3 separate regions of the Homo sapiens genome follow, and all the other regions are linked to region 1. The links are contacts of gene promoters, found by promoter capture Hi-C in blood cells and fetal thymus (Javierre and others, 2016). All regions are on one chromosome and are shown on one strand. The core of a region is centred on a gene start or on the middle of the fragment in contact, and the rest is flanking DNA. Distances in the headings are between cores, read along the strand shown. Region 1 holds the start of TACO1 (translational activator of cytochrome c oxidase I). Region 2 overlaps FTSJ3 (FtsJ RNA 2'-O-methyltransferase 3). Region 3 overlaps TANC2 (tetratricopeptide repeat, ankyrin repeat and coiled-coil containing 2).

The links. Contacts are between HindIII fragments. The CHiCAGO score rates a contact against its expected background, and 5 or more counts as called.
Region 2: a fragment that was not itself captured here is called in contact with the fragment with the promoter of TACO1 in region 1 in 1 of 17 cell types (neutrophils); the score reaches 7.1 in neutrophils.
Region 3: a contact is called between a fragment that was not itself captured here and the fragment with the promoter of TACO1 in region 1, in 7 of 17 cell types (non-activated CD4 T cells, total CD4 T cells, activated CD4 T cells and 4 more). The highest score is 7.3, in non-activated CD4 T cells.

The regions. Positions count from the first base shown.
Region 1 is chr17:63,598,609-63,602,921 of GRCh38, reverse strand. It overlaps TACO1 (translational activator of cytochrome c oxidase I), which reads right to left and starts at 2,027. Exons shown (of 5, transcript NM_016360.4): 1 at 1,559-2,027. The coding sequence starts at 1,838. The HindIII fragment of the contact is 11,259 bases long and covers 1-2,683 here.
Region 2 is chr17:63,819,400-63,823,712 of GRCh38, reverse strand. FTSJ3 (FtsJ RNA 2'-O-methyltransferase 3) reads left to right here. Exons shown (of 21, transcript NM_017647.4): 14 at 1,545-1,729; 15 at 1,870-1,990; 16 at 2,070-2,359; 17 at 2,598-2,683; 18 at 2,775-2,874; 19 at 3,275-3,458; 20 at 3,540-3,634; 21 at 3,719-4,280. The coding sequence ends at 3,911. Among named protein-coding and RNA genes, the nearest start is that of PSMC5, 5.9 kb to the left of the region's middle. RefSeq lists an enhancer at 2,689-3,888. The HindIII fragment of the contact is 6,337 bases long and covers 1-4,313 here.
Region 3 is chr17:63,407,735-63,412,047 of GRCh38, reverse strand. It overlaps TANC2 (tetratricopeptide repeat, ankyrin repeat and coiled-coil containing 2), which reads right to left. Exons shown (of 28, transcript NM_001394998.1): 22 at 362-537; 23 at 1-50. The region is part of intron 2 of LOC105371856 (a long non-coding RNA gene); the gene reads left to right. Among named protein-coding and RNA genes, the nearest start is that of CYB561, 36 kb to the left of the region's middle. The HindIII fragment of the contact is 2,236 bases long and covers 1,037-3,272 here.

The DNA of each region.
Region 1 (4,313 bases), core at 778-3,277:
CATTGTGATCTGAGGGTAGGGGCTGTATCTCATCATCTTTCTAGTACCAATGGCATGCCTGGCACAAAATAAACACAAGTTGGTTGAACTTCATTGGGATGCAGTGGCTGATACCTGCAATCCCAGCACTTTGGGAGGTGGAGGTGGGTAGATCATTTGAGGTCAGGAGTTCGAGACCAGCCTGGCCAACATGGTGAAACCCTGTCTCTATTAAAAATACAAAAAAATTTAGCCAGGCATGGTGGTGCACACTTGTAGTCCCAGCTACTCCGGAGGCTAAAGCAGGAGAATCACTTGAGCCTGGGAGGTGGAGGTTGCAATGGGCCAAGATCACGCCACTGCACTCTACCCTGGGTGACAGAGTGAGACTCTGTCTCAAAATAAATAAATAAATAAATAAATAAAAGTTGCTTGAACTTAATATCAAGAATTTTGAAGAAAAGGAAGCAAACAAATACCAGGCATGAGCTGAGGGGGTAAATTAACATTAACTGAATGCCTATGATGTGCCATAAACCATAAACTACCTCAAGGTGGGTATTATCCTTGTTTCAGAGAAACTCAAGTTAAGCTACTTGTTCAAGGTTAGTCAGTGACAGAAACCAGTCTTCCTGACTCCAAAGTCCACAGTTTCTCTCTCTTTTTTTTTTTTTTTTTTTGAGATGGAGTCTTGCTCTGTCACCCAGGCTGGATGGAGTACAGTAGAGCAATCTCGCTTACTGCAGCCTTCAACTCCTGGGTTCAAGCAATTCTCCTGCTTCAGCCTCCCGAGTAGCCAGCATTACAGGCATGCACCACCATGCCCAGCTGTTTTTTTTTTTTTTTTTTTTTGTTATTTTTAGTAGACACAGGGTTTCCCCATGTTGGCCAGGCTAGTCCTGAACTCCTGACCTCAAGTGATCTGCCTGCCTCTGGCCTGGGATTACAGGCTGTGCCACTGCGCCCAGTCCAAAGTCCATGCTTTCTACAGGACTTTTCCTTTGCTCCTACAGATGTCTGGCCCTAAACAGAAAAAAAGCCTTTTCAGTGTGGCGACCTAAGGGAGAAAAGACATGGCTGCAAATCTACCTTCCAAGGAAATGTGTCTTGGGGAAACATTAATGAAGCAAACTAAGGCCTAAGCTAAGGCCTAAGCACTTAAGTAATAGCTTTACTCAGTGCCCCTGCCACAACCAATAAGGTACTTGAGGCGACTTCAGAGGGGTTGATTTGTCTCTTCAGGAGAGACACACATCTGCCCTGACTCTTAGGGCTTGTTTCTATTAAGTACCCAGCTAGATTAGGATGAAGTCACTTCTACCTTACCGGCTTATCTTCTTAAGAGCAGCTCCCTCTCTGACAAACTGGCCAGATGCTCAGCGTCTGGAAAAGTGAGTGAGAACCTCCAACGTAGGGTAGGTGTTTTGAGGATTTATGAGGTGGGCAATGGTGGGTACTGGGGAAGGAAAACAAAGTGAAGGGCCGGAGATCTAGGTGGGCCCAATTCCGAGAGGCAAGCGAGGCTGCGGGCACTGAGAGGGCAGCGGCAGCCAGTGCTGGGTGACCGTCAGGGTCTCACCTTTCACTGCCAGGCGGATGTTCAAACAGAGTTTGGAGAAGATGCGACTCCTTTCGACGTCCTTCGGACCCTTGATGTGCCTGACTTTGGACCACTTGTTGTGCCCGGCGGGGACAGCCGCGGTAAAGTGCAGCGTCCTGCCCGGAGCGGCACCGCAGCCCCGGGGCTCGGGGTGGGAGGGCCGGGGGTCGCGCGGAGGAGCCGCCCTGACCCCGGGGCCTCGTGCCAGCAAGCATCGGGCAGCGGCCCTGCTTAGGCTGGCAGCAGCCCAAGCCGACATCGGTCCCGACCCTGGGGTTCAAGCTGCTAGCAGCAGCGGCCAACGCCGGCGCGTCTCTTCCACTGCCGGAACAAGCAGTTCCGGACCCCGCGGCCGCCTGTGCCGGTCACCTGAGATCCAAAGGCTTGGGCCCGCCCGGGGCGGCTCAACAGCTAATGACCCTACACTGTCCCCGCGGCACCCGGGACTGGGGGCCCTTGATGGCGTAGCACACTTCCTTTACCGGGTTCGCTCCAAAAACACGTCCCCACTGCCCGCAAAGTCCGTTCCGTGGCTGCACGGTACTCGCTCCTCTCTTGCCCTTGAGCAGATCTAGTTAGTGCTCAAGCCCTCACGGTTGCCTAGAGAGCGCCGGACTTTGTTTCTCATAATGTTTTAGTGGAGACACATCTGAGTTATGAAACTGACTTTGCTTCCAAATTGCTGCCTAAATCTGAGCAAGTCCAGAATGATATTTTGTTGTTGCCTCATTGTACTGGGAAAGAAACTGCTGCCAGAGAAGTGAATTGCCCAAATGTTTAATCTCTCTGAACGTCTTCCCTATTTATAAATAAGGATCTAATATTTGCTTTATCAACATAGGAAAGTTAGAAACACAAAATGAGCCCTTAGAGCTTTAAAGTAATAAAGTTTTATGTAAATAGCCACAGTGCACTTAAGCCCCTAGATGCAAGAGATGGTTTGGGACAGACTCAGATGAGTCACAGGCCTTTGGGAGAGGGAGAATGATCAGACAAGCCCTTTGGAGCTAAACTCCCCTCTTCATTTTCTCTCTGCTGTCTCGAAAGAGAAAACCGAATCCGTTAGAAGATGGAGAGAAACAAAGCGGCAGCTGCTGAAAAGCTTTGTAGTGACTCCCATGCTGGTGAGATTAAGTCCAAAGGGCATGACATATCAGGTAGAGAAGCAGGACAGCCGGGCGCGGTGGCTCACGCCTGTAATCCCAGCACTTTGGGAGGCTGAGGCAGACGGATCGCTAGGTCAGGAGTGCCAGACCAGTCTGACCAACATGGTGAAACCCCGTCTCTACTAAAAATACAAAAAAATTAGCCGGCCGTGGTGGCGCGCGCCTGTAATGCCAGCTACTCAGAAGGATGAGGCAGGAGAATCGCTTGAACCCGGGAAGAGGAGGTTGCAGTGAGCCGAGATCGCGCCACTGCACTCCAGCCTGTGCGACAGAGCGAGAATCCAACTCAAAAAAAAAAAAAAAAAAGAGAGAGAGAGAGAGAGAGAAGCAGGACAGTGTGAAGTCCAAGTTTGTGCCCTCTGCAGTTAGACTGGGTGGCTTCAAACCCTGGTTGTTCCATTTTCTAGTGTATCCTTGGGCAAGTTCCTTTACTTTCCTGTTTCAGTTTCCTTACCATAGAATGGCCTTGTGAGGACTAAATGGGATAATGGATGCAAAGCACAAAAGCATAGATTTTTTATTTTTTATTATATAAGAACCTCCATGGGGCTGGGTGCGGTGGCTCACGCCTGTAATCCTAGCACTTTGGGAGGCCGAGGCTGGCAGATCACTTGAGGTCAGGAGTTCAAGACCAGCCTGGTCAACATGGTGAAACCCCGTCTCTACTAAAAATACAAAAATTAGCCAGGTGCGGTGGGTGCCCATAGCCCTTCATACATGCTTGCACCTTAGCACTTACCTTTTAAAAAAATATCAAAATGTTTATATCTGTTTCTACCGTAATACTAAATTCTCTGAGAGTAGGACTGTACTTCCTATGCCCAACACAGTTCTCATTTTTTAAAAAATTAAGTTTTGACATATTTCACAGATCACACAGATCACCAATTCAAAGTGTACAATGTGTTATAGAATATTCAGAGCTGTGCACAATTGATTTTACATTTTCATCATCCCCAAAAGAAGTCCTGTACCCATTAGCAATCATTCCCTATTTCCCCCCAATTCCCACAGCCCTAGGCAATCACCAATTTACTTCTGTCTCTGTGGGTTTGCCTCTTCTGGACATTTAATATGAATGGGCCCACACACTATGTGGCCTTTGGTAACTGGCTTCTTTCACTTAGCATGATGTTTTCAGGATTCTTGCATGTTGTAGCATGTATCAGTATTTCATTTCTATTGCCAAATAATATTCCATTGTATGAATATACCACGTTTTATTTATCTGTTCATCAGGCAATGGACATGTGGTTGTTTCCACCTTCTATGATGAATAATGAGGCTGTGAACATTCATGTACACATTGCTGTGTGGACCTATGTTTTCACTTCTTTTAGTTATATACCTAGGAGTGGAATTGCTGGGTCATATCATAACTATGTTTAACCTTTTGTGGGATTGCCAGACTGTCTTCTAAAGTGGTTGTATCATTTTACATTCCCACCAGCAATATATGAGGGTTTAATTTCTCCATATCATGAATTTTTTTTTTTTTTTTTTGCTTTGTTACCCAGGCTAGAGTCCAGTGGAGCAATCATAGCTGACTGCAGCATAGAACTCCTGGG
Region 2 (4,313 bases), core at 683-3,182, 220 kb before region 1:
GTGGTTGCTGTCTTCACCACAGGGTGCCTTGGTGAGTATAAGGCCACAAAGAAACATAAACCAAAAAGGATGAGTTAGGTAGATAGATGAGTGTGATAGATTTATTTTTTTTTTTTTTGAGACGGAGTCTTGCTCTGTTGCCCAGGCTGGAGTGCAGTGGCACGATCTCGGCCCACTGCAAGCTCCACCTTCCAGGTTCACACCATTCTCCTGCCTCAGCCTCCCGAGTAGCTGGGACAACAGGCGCCTACCACCACGCCTGGCTAATTTTTTGTATTTTTAGTAGAGACGGGGTTTCACCGTGTTAGCCAGGATGGTCTCGACCTCCTGACCTCGTGATCTGCCCACCTCGGCCTCCCAAAGTGCTGGGATTACAGGCGTGAGCCACCGCGCCCGGCTGATAGATTTATTCTTGAAGAACTAGAACATCAGAAAAGAACTTAGGTTATAGTAGATGCTGCCAGGTTACTTGAGTTTCAAGCACAGATGAATAGAGGATCTCCCTCAGAGGGGAGCAGCATTCTTTAGTTCATTGAGACCAAGTGAGCACTCGCATTAGGGTACTTCCACTGAATACTGAAGAACATGTTTTTCCTGACAAAATCAGGGTCACAAACAAAATGAACTTTTGTGGCTTATGTGTGGGAGTGTCATAATCAGGTCATCTTTGTTGTACAGGAGGGCAGTAGAGCATGGTGGCCCTAGAGCAGACACAGGCTCAGGTTTCCTTCCCAGCTCTACCACCTGGAGCTTTGTGAAGTGACTGAGCTGACTACCACTTATCCTTGCTGCCTCAGTTTCCTCATCTGTAAAACAATAATAGAACCTACCTACTAGAGTTTTTGGTGAGGAATAAAAAAAGATAGGTGTAATCCCTCATATGTGATAAACACTCAAGAAATAGTAGTTGGAGTTTTTCCTTTGAGACAAGATCTTGTTTTGTCACCCAGGCTGGAGTTCAGTGGTGCCATCATGACTCACTGCAGCCTCAAACTCCTGGCATCAAGCAATCCTCCTGCCTCAGCCTCCCAAAATGCTGAGATTACAGGTGTGAGCCACCATACCCAGCCTAGTATCTTTACCATGAGGAAAATAAAAGGTTCTGACAATTGGTTTAAGTGGAACAGTTTTGTTGGATGTATGTTGGCTGGGCCCCTTTTATTCAGTGGAAACAAACTGTGTAGACGGTATTCTCAGGAGATGATTGAGATGCTGTCTGAGAATAATTTTTAAAGGAAAACCAGTGTTGTAGAATATGTTAAGATTTGGTGCTATGTGGGCTGTAGGTACCTTCCTTAAGACCTATTTGTGATACCACTGAGACAAGACAGCTGAGTGGGATAGATCAGTAACCCAGCCTAGAACGGGATGTTGTAAACAGGCCATTCACTACCCTGGATCTGAGCTTTCCCATCTGTGAAAGGATAATGGATTTGCCAGTGTTCTTTCTAGTGTTGCTGAGCATAGACTGAGGTGAGGGACACAGAAAAAAAAACAGTATATTTCCTTTTAAATAGTTTACCTTTGTTTCTGTTACACTTCAGTTATTAGAGGAAGTAACACAAGGGGATATGAGTGCAGCAGACACATTTCTGTCCGATCTGCCAAGGGATGATATCTATGTGTCAGATGTTGAGGACGACGGTGATGACACATCTCTGGATAGTGACCTGGATCCAGAGGAGCTGGCAGGAGTCAGGGGACATCAGGGTCTAAGGGACCAAAAGCGGTAAGGGGCACGTGTGCACCAAAGGGAATGCTGCCACTCTGAGGAAGTGTTAGGGTGGGTACTACCAGAGCCTGAGTAGGGCAGCAAGGGCTCCAGGCAATCTGGGTCTCTGAGCCCCCTACTTTCCTTTGGGTCTACAGTATGCGACTTACTGAAGTGCAAGATGATAAAGAGGAGGAGGAGGAGGAGAATCCACTGCTGGTACCACTGGAGGAAAAGGCAGTACTGCAGGAAGAACAAGCCAACCTGTGGTTCTCAAAGGTAAGGAGAGGCCGGGGGCAAGACTGCGGGGAGATGAGTCTTCCTTGGGAGAAGGGCAGCTGATGTTCTCCTATCACAGGGCAGCTTTGCTGGGATCGAGGACGATGCCGATGAGGCCCTGGAGATCAGTCAGGCCCAGCTGTTATTTGAGAACCGGCGGAAGGGACGGCAGCAGCAGCAGAAGCAGCAGCTGCCACAGACACCCCCTTCCTGTTTGAAGACTGAGATAATGTCTCCCCTGTACCAAGATGAAGCCCCTAAGGGAACAGAGGCTTCTTCGGGGACAGAAGCTGCCACTGGCCTTGAAGGGGAAGAAAAGGATGGCATCTCAGACAGTGATAGCAGTACTAGCAGTGAGGAAGAAGAGAGGTGAGTAGTTGCAGCTGAGAGAAGGGATGGAAAGGAAGCGGTGGCTTGAACCATTTCTCTAAATTGGGGGTTCTTAATCTTGGCTGCACATGGGGAGGGTTAAAAATACTGTACTGACGATCCTGATTTAACTGGTCTGGGGTACAGCCTGCATGGCAGGATTTTTGCAAATTCCGTGGGAGTGCGGTCTGAGTAGTACAGAGTGGTGGAATCACTCAGAGTCCTCCCCTCTTCACAGCTGGGAACCCCTCCGTGGTAAGAAGCGAAGCCGTGGGCCTAAGTCAGATGATGACGGGTTTGAGATAGTGCCTATTGAGGACCCAGGTGAGAGCTCTGTATGCAGTGGAATGAGAAAAGACCACTGGAAGTCTCAGTATTGGGAATTGAGCTTTGACCTTTCTCCTTCCCTCTCTAGCGAAACATCGGATACTGGACCCCGAAGGCCTTGCTCTAGGTGCTGTTATTGCCTCTTCCAAAAAGGCCAAGAGAGACCTCATAGATAACTCCTTCAACCGGTAAAGGGGCCATAAACTCATCAAGAGTGACCCAGGGTCTGGTGGGTAAATGGGTAATTTTTTGTTTTTGAGATGGAGTCTCGCTCTGTTGCCCAGGCTGGAGTGCAATGGCACGATCTTGGCTCACTGCAGCCTGATTCTCCTTGAATCGCTTGAGTCAGCCTTCTGAGTAGCTGGGATTACAGGTGCCAACCACCACGCCCAGCTAATTTTTGTATTTTTAGTAGAGATGGGGTTTCACCATGTTGGCCAGGCTGGTCAAACTCCTGACCTCAGGTGATCTGCCCACCTCAGCCTCCCAAAGTGCAGGGATTACAGGCGTGAGCCACCGTGCCCAGTCTGGTAATTTCTTTAGAAAGCCTGGAATGTTGGATATTAGACAGATGTCCTTTCCACTCAGGTACACATTTAATGAGGATGAGGGGGAGCTTCCGGAGTGGTTTGTGCAAGAGGAAAAGCAGCACCGGATACGACAGTTGCCTGTTGGTAAGAAGGAGGTGGAGCATTACCGGAAACGCTGGCGGGAAATCAATGCACGTCCCATCAAGAAGGTGGCTGAGGCTAAGGCTAGAAAGAAAAGGAGGGTAAGTGATGGGGCCTCCAGAGATTGGGTGGGGTGGGGGTGGGGGGATGGGGAAGAGGTCACCTGACAGGTTCCTTTGCAGATGCTGAAGAGGCTGGAGCAGACCAGGAAGAAGGCAGAAGCCGTGGTGAACACAGTGGACATCTCAGAACGAGAGAAAGTGGCACAGCTGCGAAGGTAATGGGAGGACACCACAAAGGTACACAGGGCTAAAAGTGCAGCAGAAAGCAAGCCTCTAACCTCTTCTCTTCCCCCCTGTAGTCTCTACAAGAAGGCTGGGCTTGGCAAGGAGAAACGCCATGTCACCTACGTTGTAGCCAAAAAAGGTGTGGGCCGCAAAGTGCGCCGGCCAGCTGGAGTCAGAGGTCATTTCAAGGTGGTGGACTCAAGGATGAAGAAGGACCAAAGAGCACAGCAACGTAAGGAACAAAAGAAAAAACACAAACGGAAGTAAGCAGAGCTGCCAGGCTCCCAGGAGAGCATGGGGACTAGGAGGAAGGGTGTGGCATGGCTCAGTCTGGCCCCCTTGATTACCGGCCTAGCCCCTGCTCACATCACAGCTGTCTGAAGAACAGTGAGGTGGAGTGCCTAGAACTCCCGTGGTGGTCCTGAGCAGAGAGGAGGATGTCCTCCTGCCTGCCTGAAGGTCTCCCATGAAAACACTGCTGAACTGTGTTGACACTCATGACCCTTTTTTTAAACCGTTAAAGGGAAGTTCGGTGTTGGAGCGATACTCAATGTAGTCAGTCTACACCTGGACGTGTGGGCCACTTAAGCCCTCCCCACCCCCATCCTATTCCTGAATAAAACCAGGATAATGGAAGAGTTGTCTTTTCTGACAGTTTTAATAAGCACT
Region 3 (4,313 bases), core at 905-3,404, 190 kb after region 1:
CTGTAGTCAACGTGCTCGATCATGGCCCCATGATCTACCAGGAACTGGACCTAGGACACGGATCAAGCAGAGAAGTTAGGACAGGCGTAATGGCTCAGCACTGTTCCACCGAGGGCTCTGGCTGCTGCCTGCCCTTTTTCAACTGCTGGCCTACCCCAGGCTATGCTGCCATGTATTTCAGGCCTTAGCTATATCCTTGATCTTTAACAGCATTTTGAATATTCTTGCTCTCTAGCAAGTATAGATCTGAGAGCTCTGTATCAGGAATCATCAATACATCACTCCACTTTCAACCCCAGGTAGTATGGATGGAGAATAGCCCCTCTCTCTGCTCTCTTGAGGCTTGTTTAAAGGTACTTACCACCTCAGCATCGCCATAGAAAGCTGCCAGATCCAGTGGGGTACGGCCATTCTTGTCAGCATGGTCTGTGGCAGCTCCGTTATCCACCAGAGAACGTACTACTGAGAGATGGCCCTTCAAACAAGCCCAGCTGAGGGCTGTCAATCCTTCTTTGTCCATAAGAGCAATGGAGGCACCTGCAAAGGCAAGTGATAGCACAGGGCTGAGGAGACATGGAATCACACAGCAGGAGGGGAAGTACGCTGAAGGGGCATGCTCCTGCAAAGAACACTGCTCGTTTCTGGACTATTTCCATTTTAAGACTGATGCTGGTATGCCAGTTGTATCTCAACTGTTAAAAGTTCATCCTATAAGCTTTCAATAAAACAGATTCCAGTCGTTTTACTGAGTATTCAGGGTCATCCACAGTCTATTCCTAATTACTCTCTATACCTGTTTTATTATTCCCCTGTGAGAATCCTCCACTTTGGCCAAATGGATGTGCTCACTGCCTCTCGGATCTCCCGTCAATCCTCCCGCATCCTCACTCTCTGCCTCTCGGATCTCCCGTAAATCCTCCTGCATCCTCACTCTTGGTCATGCTGCTCCATGTGTGGAAGAGCTTTTCTTCCCCCATGACTTGCCTCACTTCTCATTCTCTAGGAACTATCTCCATCCTCCTGCCTCTAAGAAGCTTCTCACAGTTCACTGCTACCTCATCTTAAGTATGCTTAACATAAGTCAACTTATTCCATTATTTCTTTTTATGTATACTATTTGCATGTAATAAATTCTCAATGAGCATTTTCTTCTGCTTCTTTTTTTTTTTTTTTTTTTTTTTTTTTTTGAGATGGAGTCTTGCTCCGTTGCCCTGGCTGGAGTGCAGTGGCCCAATCTTGGCTCACTGCAACCTCCACCTCCCGGGTTCAGACAATTCTCCTGCCTCAGCCTCCTAAGTAGCTGGGATTAAAGGCATGCACCACCATGCCTGGCTAATTTTTGTATTTTTAGTAGAGATGGGGTTCACCATGTTGGCCAGGCTGGTCTTGAACTCCTGACCTCAAGTGATCCACCTGCCTCGGCCCTCACTGCACCAGAGTTCGGTGAATGTTTTCTGAGCTGAGCAGAAGCCTTCCATTGATAATAGTGCTAACTCCTTGAGACAGTCTCATCAAATAGGAGCCCAGGACATGTTTGTCATTGATCACGATGCCAGGGCCCCTTCTCCCTCCCCAGGTGGGGGAAATAAACACGAGAGGACACTGAGCCCAGGACAAGAAAGAAATCTAGAGTTTAATCTAATAAAGTTAAATTCATAGAATCAAAGAATAAAATGGTGGTTACCAGAAACTAGGAGATGGGGGGGGGGGATTGGAGAGATGTTGGTCAAAGACACAAAATTCACTTAGAAAGAAGAAATAAGTTCAAGAGATCTACGGTACTAGTTACTAACTAGTACACTAAATCTACTCTATAGTTAACTATAGTCATAGTGATAGTTAATAACAATATATACTTGAAAACTGTTGTGAAAGTACATTTTAAGCATTTTCACCAGAAGAAAAAAGTGTGTAAGGTAATGCACACATTAAGTAGCTTGATTTAGCCATTCCACAATGTATACATATACAGCTTGAGTATCCCTCATCTGAAAATCTGATTTCAGAAATGCTCCACAATCTGAACCTTTTTGAGCACCAACATGACACTCAAAGGAAATACTCATTGCAGCATTTTGGATTTCACATTTTTGGATTAGAAATGCTCAACCAGTAAGTATAATGCAAATACTTCAAAATGCAAAAAATAAAATCCCAACAGAAGTGTTTCAGATAAGCGATATATAACTAAGCATTTCAGATAAGGGATATACAGCCTGCATCAAAACATCATGTTGTACACCATAAATACTGTTCCTTTTTATGGTTAGATATGTTTAGCTACACAAATACCACTGTGTTACAACTGTTTACAGTAACTCAGTGCAGTTAATACGCTGTACAGGTTTGTAGCCTAGGAGCACCAGGCTATACTATACAGCCTAGGTGTGTAGTAGGCTATACCATCTAGGATTGTGTAAGTGCACTCTATGATGTTTACAAATGACAAAATCACCTAAGGACACAATTCTTGGAATGCATTTCTCTGAACATCTCCCCTTTGTTAAGTGATACATAACTGCATATACCATTTTTACTTGTCAATTAAAAAAATAAATATTTGGCTGGGTGCAGTAACTCACACCTATAATCCCAGCACTTTTGGAGGCCGAGGTGGGAGGACTGCTTGAGGCCAGAAATCTGAGACCAGCCTGGGCAACATGGTGAGACTGTCTCTACAAAAAACTAAAAAATTAGCCAGGTGTGGTGGTGGTGTGAGCCTGTAGTCTTAGCTACTAGGAAGGCTGAGATGGGAGGATGAGATGGGAGGATCGCTTGAGCCCAGGGGTTCCAGGCTTTGGTGAGCTATGATCAGGCCACTGCACTCCAGCCTGGGTGATGGAGTGAGACCTTGCCTCTAAAAAAAGACAAAAACAAAAACAAAAAACAAATACAAATAAACAAAAAATTCAGAGTTTAAACTACTCAGCCTTATTCAATAACTCCATCCCCACTTTTAAATTCTCCACCCACCCTTTCATATTCTGGATCTGTTTCCCTTCAACATTTCTATTTTCACTTGAAAGGATCAAGCATACCTGACATGCTGTTTTGTAATCAGTCTAAAATCCAATATACATTTGGTTCTTAAGACCCAGACTGTAAGGCCTTCAATGGTAAGAAGCGAATCATTTACTTGCTAGAAGAGTACCTAAGACAACGCTTTTCACACAGTAGGCATGTCATATTTAACTACATCAGAGATCAACTTACTGCACCAGGACACTTGGCTGCCCCCTCAGCTGGACAGGATTCGGATGTCAGCTCAAGCTTAGCACCTGCCACAGCAGGCTCAGGGTTTACTCAGCAGTTATCTAGCCTATCACCTTTGCATCTCTGGAGGTCATTAGAGTCTATGGTTTCCCACAGGAGGATGAAAAGCTGGAAGGGACCATCCCTTAATCCTGATGAGAGCCATTTATGTAATGGTATAGTTTGCAATTAAAACACTGACTCTAATATGGAATAAGTTTAAATACGGAACAGAATCCAAGGCGTTTTCTCAGATGCAACATCTATAAATTTCCTGGACAAAGTATCCAGTGGAGGAAAGAGTAGGATAAGAAAGTTTTGGATGTACATTACAGATGAACTGATTTTTCCAAAGATAAGGAAAGAGAAGAAATTAAAAGGAGATACACATGAAACAAATCCATAATATGTTAAATACTTCCAAAATCCAATTTGTAATCTTCCTCTTCTCTCTTTTCTTTCTCATGCAGTTAATGAAATCACAATTCTCCCAAATGTCCGTCTTACAACTCTGGAGTTATCTTTAACTGTTCTATCCTTATTTCCTACATCTAATCAGGCTTCATATCCAAAATACCTCTTGCACATAGCCCTTTTTTGTTCTATGCTGAAAGCTACTGCCCTTGGGTTAGGACCTCATTATGCCTCATATGTTCCATTACGATGGCTTCCTAACTGATCTCCTGGCTCCTTTGTCAAATCTGCTGTTCACATACTGCCAGAGTGATTGTTTTTAAAGCATAACTCTGCCATCAATTCCTTATTTAAAATTTTTAAAGCCTCCCCAGATTCCTTTAGAATTAAGTCCAGATTCTTCTAACTTGGTCCTTTTCCATTTCCACATACCTTTCCAATTTTATTTTCCGTAGTCCCCTTACATTTTACTAGACAGCTTGCATATTTCTCCAAACCTGTCATTCCTCTTTGGCCTTTCATCTATGTTACTTCCTCTCCCTAAATACAAAACATTTTTCCTCTTCGAATTTCAAAGTCTGTCCTAGTCTAACTCAACGGACGCCTGTATCAGAGCACTCAGGATTCTCCGCTTTTTAAGGCATTTA